2 separate regions of the Homo sapiens genome follow, and region 1 is linked to region 2. The links are contacts of gene promoters, found by promoter capture Hi-C in human tissues and cell types (Jung and others, 2019). All regions are on one chromosome and are shown on one strand. Each heading gives the region's core, a stretch centred on a gene start or on the middle of the fragment in contact. The rest is flanking DNA. Distances are from core to core; before and after follow the strand shown.

What was found. Contacts are between HindIII fragments. The study calls those that stand out against the background at their distance.
Region 1: a contact is called between a fragment that was not itself captured here and the fragment with the promoter of COG7 in region 2, in 2 of the 25 tissues and cell types used here (aorta and lymphoblastoid cells).

The regions. Positions count from the first base shown.
Region 1 is chr16:23,242,401-23,247,776 of GRCh38, reverse strand. No RefSeq gene overlaps it. Among named protein-coding and RNA genes, the nearest start is that of SCNN1B, 57 kb to the left of the region's middle. The HindIII fragment of the contact is 3,421 bases long and covers 1,918-5,338 here.
Region 2 is chr16:23,449,668-23,455,415 of GRCh38, reverse strand. COG7 (component of oligomeric golgi complex 7) reads left to right here and starts at 2,227. Exons shown (of 17, transcript NM_153603.4): 1 at 2,227-2,590. The coding sequence starts at 2,422. LOC124903667 (a long non-coding RNA gene) reads right to left here and starts at 2,673. Exons shown (of 2, transcript XR_007065030.1): 1 at 2,151-2,673. RefSeq lists enhancers at 1,898-1,947, 2,238-2,567. The HindIII fragment of the contact is 22,477 bases long and covers 1-5,748 here.

The DNA.
Region 1 (5,376 bases), core at 2,379-4,878, 210 kb after region 2:
AGTAGAGACAGGGTTTCACCATGTTGGCCAGGCAGGTCTCAAACTCCTGACCTCAAGTGATCTGCCCACCTCAGCCTCCCGAGTGCTGGGATTACAGGTGTAAGCCACTGTGCCCGGCCCCAACTTCACACTCTTAATCATTGCAATCCATTGCTCCCTAAAATGTGGAGTGAACACTGTGGGAAGCAAAGCTTGTAGGTTTTGGTGAGTATTATTGCAGGCTAAGCATCTGTAACAAATGGACCCAGACATGTAGTGGTACAAATGAAATAAAAATGCATTTCTTGCTCATTTAATAATCTTTGATGACTATTCAGGGGTAGAGGCAGTTCTCTTCTATGCAGTCCTTCAGGGTGCTAGGTGACTCTGCCATCTTCAACGTGGCTTTCAATGTGTCACTAGCTCAGTGAGCTGGAAGAGGAAAGGGCATGGAGAGCTGTGTTAGTCTGTCTTTGTTGCAATAAAGGAATTCCTGTAGCTGGGTAACTTAGAAAGCCAAGAGGTTTATTTGGCTCACAGTTCTTTAGGTTCTGCAAGAAGCATGGCACTGGTATGTGCTTCTAATGAGGGCCTCAGGAACTTTCCAATCATGGTGGAAGGCCAAGGGGGAGCAGGCATGTCACATGGTAAAGACGGAGCAAGAGAGTGAGGGAGGAGGTACCAGGTGCTTTTAAATAACCAGATCTCAAGTGAATTCATAGAGCAAGAACTCACTCATTACCATGAGGACAGCACCAAGCCATTCATGAGGGATGCGTTCCCATTACCCAAATACCTTCCACCAGACCCACCTCCAACACTGGAGGTCATGTTTCAGCACGAGATTTGGAGGGGACAAAACATCCAAACCTTATCAAGGAGGCACCTGCTGTCTCAAAGCCCTAATGTAGAAGTGGCATCTACTCACATTCTATTCAGAACCACCCAGGCCATACTAAACCACAAGGGAAGTGGGCTAGAAAATGAGATTCTAATCACTGCCAGCCCATAACTACTCTATTACTATGAAAGGTGAGAATGAATTTTGGTGAAAAGCTACTGGTCCCTTTCACTAAGTGGCTTAGAGACATTGAACAATATTGAGTCACAGAAAATCTCAATTTGGTATGAAAGAAGCTCTTTCTTTTTTTTTTTTTTTCAAGACAGGGTCTCACTTTGTCACCCAGTGGAGTACAGTGGTGCGATCCCAGGTTACTGCAACCTCGACCTTCCAGGTTCAAGCGATCCTCCTACCTCACCCCCGCAATGTAGCTGGGACTTGAGGCACTTGCCACCATGCCTGGCTTATTTTTCTGTATTTTTTGTAGACACGGGGTTTCGTCATGTTGCCCAGGCTGGTCTCGGAGTCCTGAGCTCAAGTAATCCACCCGCCTCAGCCCTCAAAGTGCTAGGGTAACAGGCATGAGCCATTGCGCCTAGTCTAAAGAAGGTCTTTAACACTTTTCTACTTTTGCTAGCTTTTTTTTTTTTTTTTTTTTTTGAGACCGAGTTTCACTCTTGTTGCCCAGGCTGGAGTGCAATGGCACTATCTTGGCTCATTGCAACCTCCGCCTCCCAAGTTCAAGTGATTCTTGTGCCTCAGCCTTCTGAGTAGCTGGGATTACAGGCATGTGCCACCATGCCCAGCTAATTTTGTATTTTTAGTAGAGATGGGGTTTCACCATGTTGGTCAGGCTGGTCTGGAACTCCTGACCTCAGGTGATCAGCATGCCTCGGCCTCCCAAAGTGCTGGGATTACAGGTATGAACCACCGTGTCCAGCTTTTTTTTTTTTTAAACAAAGACAACAGAGGATGGTGTTTAATAGGACTAACTAATACTGATGCTGGTTAGGACTATAACTTTCCCTTTACCATTAATGTGTTTAAATGGAAAAATTCAGTAGATGTTTTTAATGTTAAGTAATTATGCAGTGGCATATGGATATGATATACAGTTATGAGGGTGCTTTGCAAATGACTGATCTCTGGTAAATAGTGCCCCATGCTGCAGACACCAGACAGGGTTCCTGAAGCTGGGGGAAGAGTCCCAGGATGGTGGGATGGCCAAGTAAGTTGCTAGCATGGTGTGGCTCAGGCTGAGAACAGAGAGGTCCTGCTTGAGGCCTGGGCTGGTCCCAGAGCCCAGCTCCGAGGGAAATCCAAGGCCAGGCTCTATTTCTGTGTTCCCACTGGCCAGTCCTCAGGGCATGAGGAGGGGCATGTAGTCCTAGCACATGCCTGAAGTGGAGGCTGGGAAGTTTGCTGATGTCTCCTCTCTCTACTTTCCTCTTTGCCCCACTGGGATGCTCTCCAGAAGGCTGAAATCTTGGGTGCTTTTTCTGGAAGACTCTGTACCCTGGCTAAGGTCCCAGCCGGCTGGCAGCTGCCCCTTGTCGTTTGCTGCCACACTTCCTAAGGGCAAGGGAGAGAGTGGAGCTGGGCCTCCATCCTGGAACAACTGGGTGAGTCCAGACTGCGGTCCGGAGCCCACATTCTTTCTGAAAATGGTTGGCCAACTGAGGCGTTTCTGGGTATTCCATCAGGCCAGTTACAAGGAACCCAATTTGCCCAAGGGATGGAGGATCATGGGAGATTCCTTGGGAGATGAAGAGATGAAGACCCCTGGAGTATCCGATGAGCTTTGCATCCATTACTGCAGAGGGCTCCGGATGGCCAGATAGTGTGGGGATATTCACCAGTTATCAGGGAAATGCAAATTAGAACAATGAGATGGTTTTCACTCTTTGGCATGGCAACAAGTTTGAGATTCTGAAAATATCAGTGCTTTTAGGGATGTGGGAGGAATGCTACTCTCAAATACACCTAGTGGGAAAATTTCTTGGGACATTTACTTTGGAGAACAAGTTGGTACTATCCAGAAAAACCTTGATATGTTGCCCAAAAAGCTCCTATGCATATGCACAACTCTGTTCGTTATGGCACAGTTTGTAATTTAAAAAACCCGGGAGACCACCTAGAAGTCTAGCAATAAGGGAATAGATAAATAAAATGTGGCTGTGGCCATTAGAATAAATAACCCAATCTACACATATCAATATGAGAGAGCCAAGCAACAAAATATTAAGTGAAAAAAGCATGATGCAAAATGATATGTGTATTAATTATCTATTGACATATAACAAAGTATCCCAACACTTAGTGGCTTTAAGCAACAAGACACATTTATTATCTTCATCGTTTCTGTGAGTGATGAATTCAGACGTAGCTTAGTTGGGAGGTTCTGGTTGGGGGTTTCTCATAAAGTTGCCATGAAGATGTCAACTGGGGCTACTGTCATCTGAAGACTTGACTGGGGCTGGAGGATCCATTTCTCAGTTGGCTTATATAGAAGGCTGTCAAGTTGATGCTGATCACTTGTGGGAGGCCTGAGTTCCTCTCCATGTGGGCCTCCTCCACAGGGCTACTTGAGTATCCTCATGACATGGTAGCTGACTACCCCCAGAGGGAGCAGTCTGACAGAGTGCAAGATGAAAGTGACAATGTTTTTTATGACCTAACCTTGGAAGTCATACACCATCAATTCTACCATATTCTATTCATTAAGAATAAGTCACTAAGTTTGGTCCACACTTAAGGGAATAGGAACTAGACTCCTCCTTTGAAAGAAAAGAGTGCCAAAGAATTTGTGGACATAATTTAAAGCTTGCATATGTATAGTTTGATACTATGTATGTAGTTTAAAATGATATACACACATGCCTGGCTAATCAGAGGCCTTCACCAATCTGGCTATGGTGATTACTTTAGGAATGGATTCAGCATTTGGACACTGGAGATTCTTTGTTCTGGGGATGCCAAGCTTCCAGAATATGAGTCTTGGGCTGCTTAGGGTCATCTTGTTCATGGAAACTAAGAGAGACTTTCTGAAGCACTGAGAGAGAGATAGCCCTAATAAGATCATTTCACCCCCTGGATTAAGGCATGCCTAAAGGCTGATTCATCTTTCTCTGAAATTTTTAGTTATACAGTACAAAAATTTACCTTTTTAACATATAATGGCTTGGATTGGGTTGCTGTCTCTTGTCACTACAGCATTTTTGATGAATACAATAGTTATGGTGTTGGTGTTGGAGTTTAGGTCAAGGCCAAGGTTGTGGTTAGGTCTGAGGTATGGGAAAGGTTTGCAAGGAGAATTAACACTTAGGTTTTGTTTGTTTGTTTGTTTGGAGACAGGGTCTCATTCTGTCACCCAGGCTGAAGTGCAGTGGTGCAATCATAGCTCACTGCAGCCTCAAACTCTTGGCCTCAAGTCATCCTCTGTCTTAGCCTTCCAAGTAGCTGGTACTGCAGGTGCATGCCATTGTGCCTGGCTAGTTAGAAAAAAATTTTTAGGCCAGGTGCAGTGGTTCATGCTTGTAATCTCAGCACTTTGGGAGGTCAAGGTAGGAGGGTTGCTTGAGGCCAGGAGTTTGTGATCAGCCTGGGCCACATGGTGAGACCTCATCTCTGAAAAAACACAAAAAACAACAACCACAACAGAAATATTTTTTAGAGATGGGGTCTCCCTATGTTGCCCAGGCTGGTCTCAAACTCCTGGCTTCAAATTATCCTTCAAATTATCAGCTTCCTAAAGTGCTGAGATTATAAGCATAAGCCACTGCACTTGGCCAACACTTGGTTTTGACTTTGGCTTTGTTTGGCTCTCACTTGTAAATCTCTCATGAAGGTATTACTGCCTCTCCACTCCTACTGTCACTGATATAGTTGAGACCTTCAGAAACTCTTGCTTGGATCATTGCAGTAACTAACTGATCCTCTGCCACCACTGTCTTCCTTCATCTGTTATGTGCCACACTGCTCATAGATTGCGGGTTTGAAACCAATATTGTCATATTGCTCCCAGGCTCAAAAACCTTCAATGACACCAACTGTCTGGAGAATCAGACTCAAATGCATTAGCCTGACTTTCAAGTTGCCCATTATTTGGCCTTCAGTTCCTTTCCCAGCACCATGTCCCAGTGCACCTCACCACACACATGCGTATGCACACACATAGACACACACACTACATTTCATTTCCCACTTAGATTGAGGTTTCAGGGGTTAGGCATAGCATTGGGTTTAGGGTTGAATCTAAGTTTGGGTTTGTGCTAATCAGCCTTCAAGATGATCTTCAGTGATTCCTGCTTCCTGGTATTTATGCCATTGTATAATCCTCTCCTACAGTGAATAGGGCCAATCTGTGTAACCAATAGGATATTGTGGAAATGTTGGACTGTGTGTGATAGTTCGTTTTATTTATAACCTTGACTTGACCATGGGGTGCCCAGAAATTTGGCTAGACATTATTTCTGGGTGTATCTGAGAGGATGTTTCCCAATGAGATTAGCATTTGAATTGATGGACTTGACATGGTAGATTTCTCACTGCCCCAC
Region 2 (5,748 bases), core at 978-3,477:
TGTATTATACAATGAAAACTACAAAATATTGCTGAGAGAAATTAAAGAAGATCTAAATCAGATCTAAATCCCCAGGGGTGATTCCTACTAGGGAACACTTGGCACTGTGTGGACAGATTTTTGGTTGCCACAACTTGGAGAGGATGTTGCTCCTAATGGGTAGCGGCCAGGGATGCTGCGAAATATCTTACAATGCATAGGACAGCCCCCATAACTAAAAATTATCTGGGCTCAGTAGTGCCAAGGCTGAAAAATTCCCATCTAAATAAATGAAGAGGCGTTTCATGCTATGGATTGGAACAGTCAATATTGTCATGATGGCAATTCTCCTAAAATTAATCCAACAATTCAACAGTTCAACATAATCCCTGTCAAAATCCCAGCAGGATTTTTTTTTTTTTTGGGGGGGATGGAGTCTCGGTCTGTTGCCCAGGCTGGAGTGCAGTGGCGGATCTCGGTTCACTGCAACCTCTGCCTCCTAGGTTCAAGCGATTCTCCTGCCTCTGCCTCCTGAGTGGCTGGGATTACAGGCGCGTGCCACCATGCCCAGCTAATTTTTTTATTATTAGTAGAGATGGGGTTTGACCATGTTGGTCAGGCTGGTCTCAAACTCCTGACCTCATCATCTGCCTGCCTCGGCCTCCCAAAGTGCTGGGATTACAGGCGTGAGCCACTGTGTCCTGCCTAAATTTTTAACAAGAGCAAAGTAAGAGGACTTACACTATCAGATTGCTCCCCTCGTCTCCCCTCCCTGCATTGCTCCCCTCCTCTCTCCTTCCCTCCTCTCCCCTCCCCCCAAATAACTGGGACTCCTAGCAGAAGGGTTACCCCAGTTAAAACCTACTCAACCCAGAAGAATGAGACAAACCAAGGGAGATGCCAATGAAAAACGAGTGACTATCAGGCCTGGAGATGGCAGCCAGCCACTCATACCCCAATGGCAGGCCAACCTGGAAAACTGTCCCCTGTAGGGTTTCCAAGGATGACATCTTGTCCTCCCCCTTGGGTTGGTCCCACTCTTGAAACAACATAAAAACTTAGAACCTAAAGAATACCCTCATACCTTCCCCTACCTTTTCTTCTTTTCTTTTCGAGACAGGGTCTCGCTCTGTCACCCAGGCTGGAGTGCAGTGGCGTGATCACAGCTCACTGCAGCCTCGACCTCCTGGGCTCAGGCAATCCTCTCACCCCAGCCTCTCGAGTAGCTGAGACTACAGGTGTGCGCCACCACACTCAGCTAATTTTTAATTTTTTTGCAGAGACGGGGTCTTCCTATGTTGCCCAGGCTGAGAAATTGTTTGTGATTATGGGTTATGCACAGATTTCTCAGCCGCAACACCAAAAGCATGATCCATAAAAAAAGGTGATAAGGAACTTAACAAACTTTAAAAGGTCTGCACCTCAAAACACATCATTAAGAAAATAATTAGTTAGGCCAGGCGCGGTGACTCACGCCTGTGATCCCAACACTTTGGGAGGCCGAGGCAGGCGGATCACCTGAGGTTGGGAGTTTGAGGCCAGCCTGGCCAGCGTGGTGAAACCCCATCTCTACTAATAATACAAAAAGTAGCCGGGCGTGGTGGCACGCGCCTGTAATCCCAGCTACTCGGGAGGCTGAGGCAAGACACTCGCTTGAACCTGGGAGGCGGAGGTTGCAGTGAGCCGAGATCGCGTCACTTCGCTCCAACCTGGGCGACAGAGCAAGACTCCGTCTCAGAAAAAAATAAAGAAAGAAAGAAAAAGAAAGAAATAGCCGGGCGTGTTGTCGCGCGCCTGTAGTCCCAGCTACTCTGGAGGCTGAGGTGGGAGGATCGCTGGAGCCCAGAAATTTGAGGCTGCAGTGAGCTGAGATCGTTCAATTGCCCAGGAATTTGAGGCTGTAGTGAGCAGAGATCGTTCAATTGCACTCCATTGCTGCCCACTGCGCTCCACTGTTGCCCAGGCTGTCCTAGAACTCCTGGCCTCAAGCGATTCTCCCGCGTCAGCTTCCTAAAGAGCTGGGATTACAGGCGCGAGCCACCGCGTAAATGCGCTAATGTATGTCAGGGCTTTATAGTAAGCATATAGTTTAGTCCTCGGCAAATGTTAGCAGACATGGGATATTTGTCGGTGCCGGGAGCTCTCAGTCCGGGGCGTTTTCCCACACCCACCTCTGCTCAGCGCTCCGGACGCCTGCAGTCACTATGGTAACGGCCAACGACTTCCGGAAGAAGAACGGCGGGCGGCGAGGGTCATTCCCAGCCGCAAACTGAGTGCGCTGAGCGGGGAAGCGCAAAGGGGCAAGTTACCCGTCCTGGCGTTTCTGGGGTTCGCCTCGGAGGCTAGCCTCGGTGCTCTCGCAGGCTCGCTCGCTTCTGCATCCCCGTTGCCGCCCGGAGCCAACTCTTAAGTTCTGGACGCCAGGCCTGAGGCAGTTCCGCCATGGACTTCTCCAAGTTCCTGGCAGACGACTTCGACGTGAAGGAGTGGATCAATGCGGCCTTCAGGGCCGGCTCCAAGGAGGCGGCGTCCGGGAAGGCGGATGGCCACGCAGCCACCCTGGTGATGAAGCTGCAGCTGTTCATCCAAGAGGTGAACCACGCCGTGGAGGGTGAGCCGCTCGGGGCCCTGGCCGCGGGACCCTCCCCTGCTCTCGGCTGGGCAGAGGTCACCGAACTTGCGTGAGGCACTCAGGTGGGCGGGGCACGCATGGACAGCAAATACCCTCGGCAAAAGAGCAAGCCCCGAACTCCTGATCACGTCAGCGGGAGTCTCAGCTGGGTGCCGGGCTGTCTTGAACACTTGCTAATTTTGGGTGTTGTTTTTCCTCCTCTGGCTGGGCTATAAGTTTCCTTTTTCTTTTCTTTCTTTCTCTTTGTTTTTTCTTTTGAAACAGGGTCTCTCTACAGTGGCTCGATCATAGCTCACTGCAGCCTCGAACTCCTGCACTCAAGCGATCCTCTCGCCTCTCGAGTCGCTAGGACTACAGGCGCGAGCCACCGCGCCCCACAAATTCTGTTTAAAAAAAAAATTGTAGAGATGGGATCTCACTGTGTTGCCAGGCTGGTCTCAAATTCAAATTCCTGGGCATAATGGGTTTTCCAGTCTTGGCCTCCCAAAGTACTGTGATTATACCTGTGAGCCACCACATCTGGCCTGAAGTTTCCTTTTGGAACTTAAAAGAGTGGATCTTATTGCAGTAGCTCTTCTCTAAATAATTCAATAGCAGATCTCTGGGATTCCCTTTTTATTATTATCCATAGGCACTGGAAGACAAGATGGATCTTTTTAAATGCTAGAAGTTTTAACCAGTTCTTAACATGTCTTTGTTGAGGCACCTTCCAGAATATAAGATAAAACAACTCCAGTTTCTGTTATAGTGACTTGAATCTCAGAGTCAAGAGCCCAGTGTCAAAGAAAATTGGCTTTGACTTTTTGTAATCTAGGAGCACGAGTCTGTGAGGTGTTTATTCAAAGAGTTAAAGAGCCTGTTTTGTACCAAACAATAAACTGTAAAAAGAAAAAAAAAGTGAATTTTGAGAGTATGAAAGAATAGCCAACAGATCCATATATCTGGAAAAAACGTATTATAGTATAGGTATAAGAGAATGACACAGATCTAGAAAACATTGTTTTAGTGGATTTTATTTCAGCTGAGGAAGATAGGCTGGTCTCAGTGGAGACTTAAACCTTTTTTTTTTTTTTTTTTTTGAGACAGGGTCTCATTCCTCATTCTGCTGCCCAAGCTGGAATGCAGTGATACCATCATAGTTCACTGCAGCCTCAAACTCTGGGTTCAAGCAGTCCGCTCGCCTCAGCCTCCCAAGTAACTGGAACTATAGGCATGTGCCACCATGCCTGGCTAATTAAAAAAAAAAATTTTTTTTTAGAGACAAGGTCGCACTATGTTGCCCAGGTTGATCTCAAATTTCTGACCTCAAGTGATCCTCCCATCTTGGCTTCCCAAAGCCCTAGGATTACTGGTGTGAGCCACCACGCCTGGCCTAAACCATTTGTTGAGGATAAGTTAAATTATAAAAAATAACATGCACTGGCAACCATTTCATGTAACTCCTCAACTTGACTTTTATTCACCGTGTGTTGATTCACTGTGTGTTGATTCAGTACGTACTGCACACAAGTCTCTCTCCTAGGCTCAGATGGAAAGACCAAACAGACTGCTTCCACTGGGAGTGGATAGTCCAAGAGATGTTCCCATTTTTGTTTGTTTTTTTGTTTTTTTTGAGACGAAGTCTCGCTCTTTCCCCCTGGCTGGAGTGCAGTGGCGCCATCTCAGCTCACTGCAACCTCCCCCTTCTGAGTTCAAGTTATTCTCCTGCCTCTACCTCCTGAGTAGCTGGGATTACAGGTGCGTGCCCCACCCCTGGCTAATTTTTGTATTTTTAGTAGAGATGGGGTTTCATGATGTTGGCCAGGCTGATCTTGAACTCCTGACCTCAGGTGATCCACCCACCTCGGCCTCCCAAAGTGCTGGGATTACAGGCATGAGCCACTGTGCCCGGCCAGATGTGCCCATTGTTTAAGAAAAGGTAGGGAGGGGGCTCTATTTCACTGCAGATTGTTTTCTTTCTTTCTTTTTTTTTTTGAGACAGGGTCTCACTTTGTCACCCAGGCTACAGTGCAGTGGTGTGGTCAGTGCTCACTGCAGCTTCACCTCTCGGGCTCGAGGAATTCTCCTGCCCCAGCCTCCTGAATAACTGGGACCACAGGCTTGTGCCACCATGCCAGATGGCACAATTTTTTGATTTTTTGTAGAGATGGGGTCTCACTATGTTGTCCAGGCTGGTCTCAAACTCCTGAGCTCAGGCGATCCTCCAGCCTTTGCCTCCTAAAGTGCTGGGATTACAGGCGTGAGCCACCGCGCCCAGCCCTTATTCTTTATTGTACCTTGCATCTTTTACTAATTATTGAGCATCTACTATGCATGTGTCCAGAAATGGGCAGTGGGGAGGAAAAGTTTATCTTGCTCGAGCTTGCTGCCTTTGGGGAAGATAGAAACAGTAAATTACAATGACGGATGGCTTTACTCAGAATAGAATCTGGAGTTGTGAGAACTGTCAGGAGGGTGCAGTTACTTCTTGTTTAGGAGAATCATAAAGCACTTGCCCTGTGTTAGACCTTGAAGGAAAACTTTGTAGGGCAAAGAGGAAAGGACATTAATAATAATATAATAGCAAATTGGCTGGGCGCAGTGGCTCATGCCTGTAATCTCAGCACTTTTGGAAGGCTGAGGCGAGAGAATCACCTGAGGTCAGGAGTTCCAGACCAGCCTGGTCAACATGGTGAAACCCCATCTCTACTAAAAATACAAAATTAGAGGTGGGTGTGGTGACATGCGCTGTAGTCCCAGCTACTCAGGAGGCTGAGGCAGGAGAATCGCTTGAACCCAGGAGGCAGAAGTTGCAGTGAGCAGAGATCCCACCACTACACTCCAGCCTGGGTGACAGAGTGAGACTCTGTCTCAAAAATAATAATAATAATGATATAATAGCACATATATGAGGTTTGGTACATGTCAGACACTCTTTTTGGTGCTCTATATGTATTAACTAAGTGATTCTGAAACATGGGTTGCAATGCTTTCCTTGCCTCCCCTTATCCTTGTTCCTGCCCTCAGGAACAGGGACTATTTGGAAATTGGTGGGAGGTTTTTTTTTTTTTTTTGAGATGGAGTTTCAATCTTGTTGCCCAGGATGGAGTGCGATGGAGTGCAATGGCGTGATCGCGGCTCACTGCAACCTCCGCCTC